2 separate regions of the Homo sapiens genome follow, and region 2 is linked to region 1. Evidence: promoter capture Hi-C in 16 types of primary human blood cells and fetal thymus (Javierre and others, 2016). All regions are on one chromosome and are shown on one strand. Each heading gives the region's core, a stretch centred on a gene start or on the middle of the fragment in contact. The rest is flanking DNA. Distances are from core to core; before and after follow the strand shown. Region 1 holds the start of SHISAL1 (shisa like 1). Region 2 has its middle 10 kb from the start of LINC00207.

Evidence for each region. Contacts are between HindIII fragments. The CHiCAGO score rates a contact against its expected background, and 5 or more counts as called.
Region 2: a contact is called between a fragment that was not itself captured here and the fragment with the promoter of SHISAL1 in region 1, in 7 of 17 cell types (total CD8 T cells, naive CD8 T cells, M1 macrophages and 4 more). The highest score is 8.2, in total CD8 T cells.

What each region holds. Positions count from the first base shown.
Region 1 is chr22:44,311,605-44,314,341 of GRCh38, forward strand. It overlaps SHISAL1 (shisa like 1), which reads right to left and starts at 1,347. Exons shown (of 5, transcript NM_001099294.2): 1 at 1,147-1,347. It overlaps LOC101927499 (a long non-coding RNA gene), which reads left to right and starts at 1,407. Exons shown (of 2, transcript XR_244444.3): 1 at 1,407-1,539. The HindIII fragment of the contact is 15,394 bases long and covers 1-2,737 here.
Region 2 is chr22:44,557,800-44,560,683 of GRCh38, forward strand. No RefSeq gene overlaps it. Among named protein-coding and RNA genes, the nearest start is that of LINC00207, 10 kb to the right of the region's middle. The HindIII fragment of the contact is 2,757 bases long and covers 1-2,693 here.

The DNA.
Region 1 (2,737 bases), core at 97-2,596:
ACTGTGATCCCATTTTACAGATGAGGAAGCTGAGGCCTGGGGAAAGGGGGACTTGAGCGAGAACACACAGCTGAAAGGGGCTTAGCTGGAAACCCCAACCCTGCTGAAGGCCCTAGATGCCCCACTGTCCTCCAGGGGGCCACACTGGGTCACAGGGCGAGGGGCTCAGGCCAGACTCAGTTTCCTCCCCTATTAAAGGGAGAGCTTGGCCGAGACAATCATGGGCCTTCTTCAGCTCAACAACCCTTTGTTTCTCTCTGTCCTCCTGAGTTATTTGGTTGCACCATGGAGATAAAACAACCCCTGGAAATCCCAGAGGCATTTTTTTCCCACTGGAGAAACACAAAAATATCACATGAAGAATGAATCACTTAAAGTGTCAGGGCAGGAAGAGGAAAGACAGGCATGGCGCTCGCCTCGGGGTGGGGGTGGCTCTGGGTTTCTCTTCAGCTCCCTCAGCCTCCCTGGTCCCCAGAACCCCTTCCTCACTGGAGTGAAGAGAAGCCAAAGCCCTAAGCCTCAGTTTCCCAATCTGTAAATGGGGACAACAAACCTGCCTTGAAGGCGTATTCGGAGGGGCCAATGCATTCATTTGTTCGTTCATTCATTCATTCATTCATCTATTCACTTATTTCGTACCGGTGTGATGCTGGACTGGGACTGCAGACTCTGAAGTGGGTCGAACAGACCCACCTCACCCCCGTGAAGCCAACCAAATGCCCTCCAGGCCATGACTAGGGCATCCTGAGAGCACTCCCTAGGCCATGCCGGACCCTCCCCCGAGCCTTTGGCCTTCTCTCCAACCCCTCTCTATGCAAGGCTCTTGACACAAGGACACTGAGGCACAGAGACGGTCAGCAACTTGCTCAAGGTCACACAGCAGGTAGGTAGTAGCACCAGCATCTGTGCACCCCCACAGGGCTCCCACCCCTCTAGATCAGAGCCTGCTCCCCATCTTGCCCCACTGGCATAGCCGTCACCCCGGCCCCTCCCATTCTTCTGTGACTAGGAGTCACTTAGCAGCCTTGCCTGGCTTCTCCCTTAGACCCAGTGCTTAGCCAGGGCAGGGACCCCAGGGTCAGCGTGAAGGAACAGAGGTGCCCCTGCACAGTGAGGACCTGGAAACCTCCACAGGCTGCTCCTTACCTGCCGAGCCCTGTGACTGAGGGATCAGAAGCCCCCTCCGCTGGCTGCGGTCTCCCTGCAGCTGCTGGCCTCTTCCCCGGCTCCTGGTTGCCACCAACCTTAAACCCCAATAAAAGGAGAGCAACTTGGTCGAGCCTTGTATAGGCAAAAGAGTGTTTTCCAGCGCAGGCTGGCCTCTGTGTGCTGACAAGAATTCAGTGTGCTCCTCAGGGCGGGGAGTGGGGCTAGGGCGCTGAGTCAGCCCTGCAGGAGTCCAGCTCCCGCCTGGGCCTAGGGCCGCCACCTCCCAGGCCCAGGATGGCAGCGGCTGCTCCCGCAGTCCCCACGCACTCCAGCCTCTGGTCTTACAGCCTTGTGCATCCTCAGAGCACCAGCAAGAGCCCCATTTTACAGGTGAGCAAACTAGAGACACTCCCTGTGAGATCCCACAGCTAGAAGCAGCAGGGGCTTAGACCCAGGGCACCGGGCTCCAGGTCCGCACCTCAGCAGATGCTTGGCACAATACATGTGGGTTCCCTCCCGTGGCCCTCAGTCTCTGTTGGGCAATGGAGGTCAGTGGCACCACTGCACAAGCCCCTCTGGCCAGCATGGCCCGGGGAGGGGTGTGGGTAAAACAAACGGTCCCCACACCAGCCCGGGGAGGAAGGGTAGCTGGGACCCGAGAGCCCACAGAGGGTGTGTGGCACCTGCCTGACTCCAAGCTGGGCTGATCTTCCTGCTGTTGCCCCCCTACCCCTGGCCTGTCCCCACCCAGCAGCAGAGGGTCCTCCCTGCCAGTAGGAATGGGGTGGGGATGGGGCAGGAACAGGGCGGGGGATGCCCACACCTGCCACTGTTCGAAACACATCAGTGGCTTCCATGACTGTCTGGACACAGCCCAGGGGCCTGGCTGGCCTCTGCAGCCACACTTCCTGGGTGCCAGGCACCCCCCCAGCCCATGGCCGTCTCCCACCCCTGGGCCTTCGTGCATCGTGGTACCTTGGCGGCGCCCTTGGCTGGCTTCTGGGTGGCATTTAAACGCAGCCATAAAGGAGGCCAGCCCTCCTCTGCCTCCCACCCATCCCTGGAAGCCTGCCCATCCTGAGCCAGGCCAGAAATAAACCTCCTTTTTCCATTCCTTTCGGTGGACAGAGAGCGAGTTCAGACTGGTCTGGGTGCCCCTCATCTAACCACGGTCCCAACAATGGCAGCCCAGAGCGATGGGTGCCACGATGGGAAACCAGGGGGCTATGGGCGCCCAGAGTGCCTGATGCAGCCTGACGGGGTAGGGGCCGGGAGTGGGGGTGGTATTTATTTAATCTTCATGATTAGGAGGGGCTGTGATTATCCCCAATTTACAGATGCGGAAACTGAGGTACAGAGTTTCAGTAACTCGTCCTGGGTCGCCTGGCTGGGGACTCAGACCAGGGGGTCTGGTGTGGACACCTGAAGGATGAGTCGGGCGGTGGGGCGGGGGTGGGGGTGGGGGAGTGTTCCTGGCAGAGGGAACAAGGCACACAAAGTTCCTCCTGCCTCTTGTCTGGGGCTCAGCATAGCAGCAGAGAAACAAAAGGGCTCTGAGCTTGGGGTTTGAACACGGGTTCAAGTCCCT
Region 2 (2,884 bases), core at 65-2,564, 250 kb after region 1:
AAATGCTAAGGGATCTTTTAACTGCTTTACTAGAAAGCAAATTTAACAAGGTCACAGGATAAAAAGGCAATAGAGAAAGACACATTTCTATACACTGTAATGACTGATATTAAAAGTGATACCTTTGCAATACCATAAAAAACATCAAATACTTAGGAATACATTTAATAAAATACATGTAAAGCCTCTACACTAAAGGCTATAAAATAATGTGTACAGGCCAGGCACAGTGGCTCATGCCTCTAATACTAATACTTTGGGAGGCGAGGCGGGAGGATCACCTGAGGTCAGGAGTTTGAGACCAGCCTGGCCGACATGATGAAACCCTGTCTCTACTAATAAAAAAATACAAAAATTAGCCAGGTGTGGTGGTGGGTGCCTGTAATCCCAGCTACCCAGGAGGCTGAGGTAGGAGAATAGCTGAAACCCGGGAGGTGGAGGCTGCAGTGAGCAGAGATCATGCCACTGCACTCCAGCCTGGGAGCCAGGCTCCATCTCTAATGATAATAATAATAATAATAGTAATGTGTACTGAGATAAAATAAAGACGAAATAAGCAAACGGGGAGAGATACCATGATCATTGACTGGAAGATTCAATATTTATAAGATAGCAATTTGCCCCAAATTTATCTAATGATTCAATGCAATCCCAATCAAAATCTCGACAAACCAATCTATAGTGGCAAAAAGCAAATCGGTGATTGCCTAGGGGCCAGGGTGGGTTGGGCATTAAGGAAACAGAAGAGTCAGAGGAAAACTCCTGGGGCTGAGGCTCATGTCCATTGTCTTGATTGTGACGATGGCCCACACATGAACACACGCTTCATAACTTACTAAACTGTGTACTTTAAATGTGTGTCATCTATTATATGTCAATTATAGCTCAATGATAATGTTTTTTAAATAATTTAATCTCAGTAGTCATTTTTTTTGTTTTGATTTGTTTTTTTTGTTTTGTTTTGTTTCAGACAGTCTCACTCTGTCACCCAAGCTGGAGGGCAGTGGCACAGTCTCAGCTCACTGCAACCTCTGTCTCCCGGGCTTAAGCAATCCTCCTGCCTCAGCCTTGTGAGTCACTGGGACTACAGGCACGCACCACCACGCCCAGCTAATTTTTTTGTATTTTTGGTAGAGACGGGGTTTCACCATATTGCTCAGGCTGGTCTTGAACTCCTGACCTCAAGTGATCCACCCACCTCGGCCTCCCAAAGTGCTGAGATTACAGGTGTCAGCCACCGCGCCCAGCCCTAGCAGTCATTTTTAAAGTTAAAAGTTGATTCTTTTTTAAAAATAAAGAAAAGAAGTTGAATTGGCTCACAATTCTGCATGGCACCAACATCTGCTTGGCTTCCGTCAAGGACCTCTGGAACTTTGCAGTCATAGCAGAAGGTGAAGGAGAGGCAGGCACCTCACATGGCAAGAGCAGAGCAAAGGAGATGGGGGAGCAGCAACGCACACTTTTCCTTTTTTTTTTTTTTTTTAATTTTTTTTTTTTGGAGATGGAGTCTCACTCTGTTGCCCAGGCTGGAGTGCAGTGGCACGATCTTTGCTCACTGCAACCTCCGCCTCATGGGTCCAAGCGATTCTTCTGCCCCAGCCTCCCGAGTAGCTGGGACTACGGGCACGTGCCACCATGCCCAGCTAATTTTTGTATTTTTTTTTTAGTAGAGACAGGGTTTCACCATATTGGCCAAGCTGATCTCGAACTCTTGACCTCGTGATTCACCCGCCTCGGCCTCCCAAAGTGCTGGGATTACAGGCGTGAGCCACCACGCCAGGCCGCGACACACACTTTTAAACAAGCAGGTCTCATGAGTACGCACTCACTACGCGGAGAACAGCACCAAGCCATAAGGGATCCACCCCCATGATCCAATCACCTCCCATCAGGCCCCACCTGCAACATTGAAGGTAATCAACGTGAGATTTGAGTGGGGACAAATATCCAAACTACATCATTCTGCCCCTGGCGCCCCCAAATCTCATGTCCTTCTCACATTGCAAAATACAATCATACCTTCCCAATAGTCCCCTGAAATCTTAACTTATTCCACCATTAACTCAAAAGCCCCACATCTGGTCTAAAGTCTCACCTGAGACCCACTCCTCAGTACAGTTTCTGTGTTAGACCACTCATGCATTGCTATAAAGAAATACATGAGACTGAATAATTCATAAAGAAAAGATAATTAATTGGCTCATGGTTCTGCAGACTGTACAACCACGGCTTCAACATCTGCTTAGCTTCTGTGAGGGCCTCTGGAATCTTACAAGCATCACAGTTGATTCCAAAACGTATGCAGAAATTGGAAAACATTGAATAGCCAAAAAAAAAAGTTCAAAAAGAAAAATAAGTTTGGAGGACTTTTACGACATAATTTCAAGACTTGCTATAAAGTTATGATAGTGAAGACAGTACAATAATGGCATAAACATAGACAAATAAAAGCACTAGAACAGAATAGAGGCCAGAAGGAAACTCATGTTTATACGGTCAATTGATTTCTTTTTACCTTAGGTGCTAAAGCAAGTTAAGGAAAAGAAAAAACTTTTTAACAAATGGTACCCAAACAACTGACTATACCTACATCTATAACCCTGAGGGGTTACCCTCCATTCTTTAGCTGAGTACTGATCAGCACATGCGTGTGAGGAAGTGACCTCAGATTAGAAAAAGAAACACTGGAACAAAGCTTAAAATCAAGCCTCAGAAGGATCCAACTGTTTCCAAGTAACTGATTTAATGCCCAGAAAATTTTGTAAAAAATATTTAAAGGAATACAGGCAAAATTAATTAATTAAACCACACCCAACAACCAGAGCTCACAATTTCTTGTACCTAATCAAAAATCACCATCTATGCAAAGAGGTAAAAAAGACAG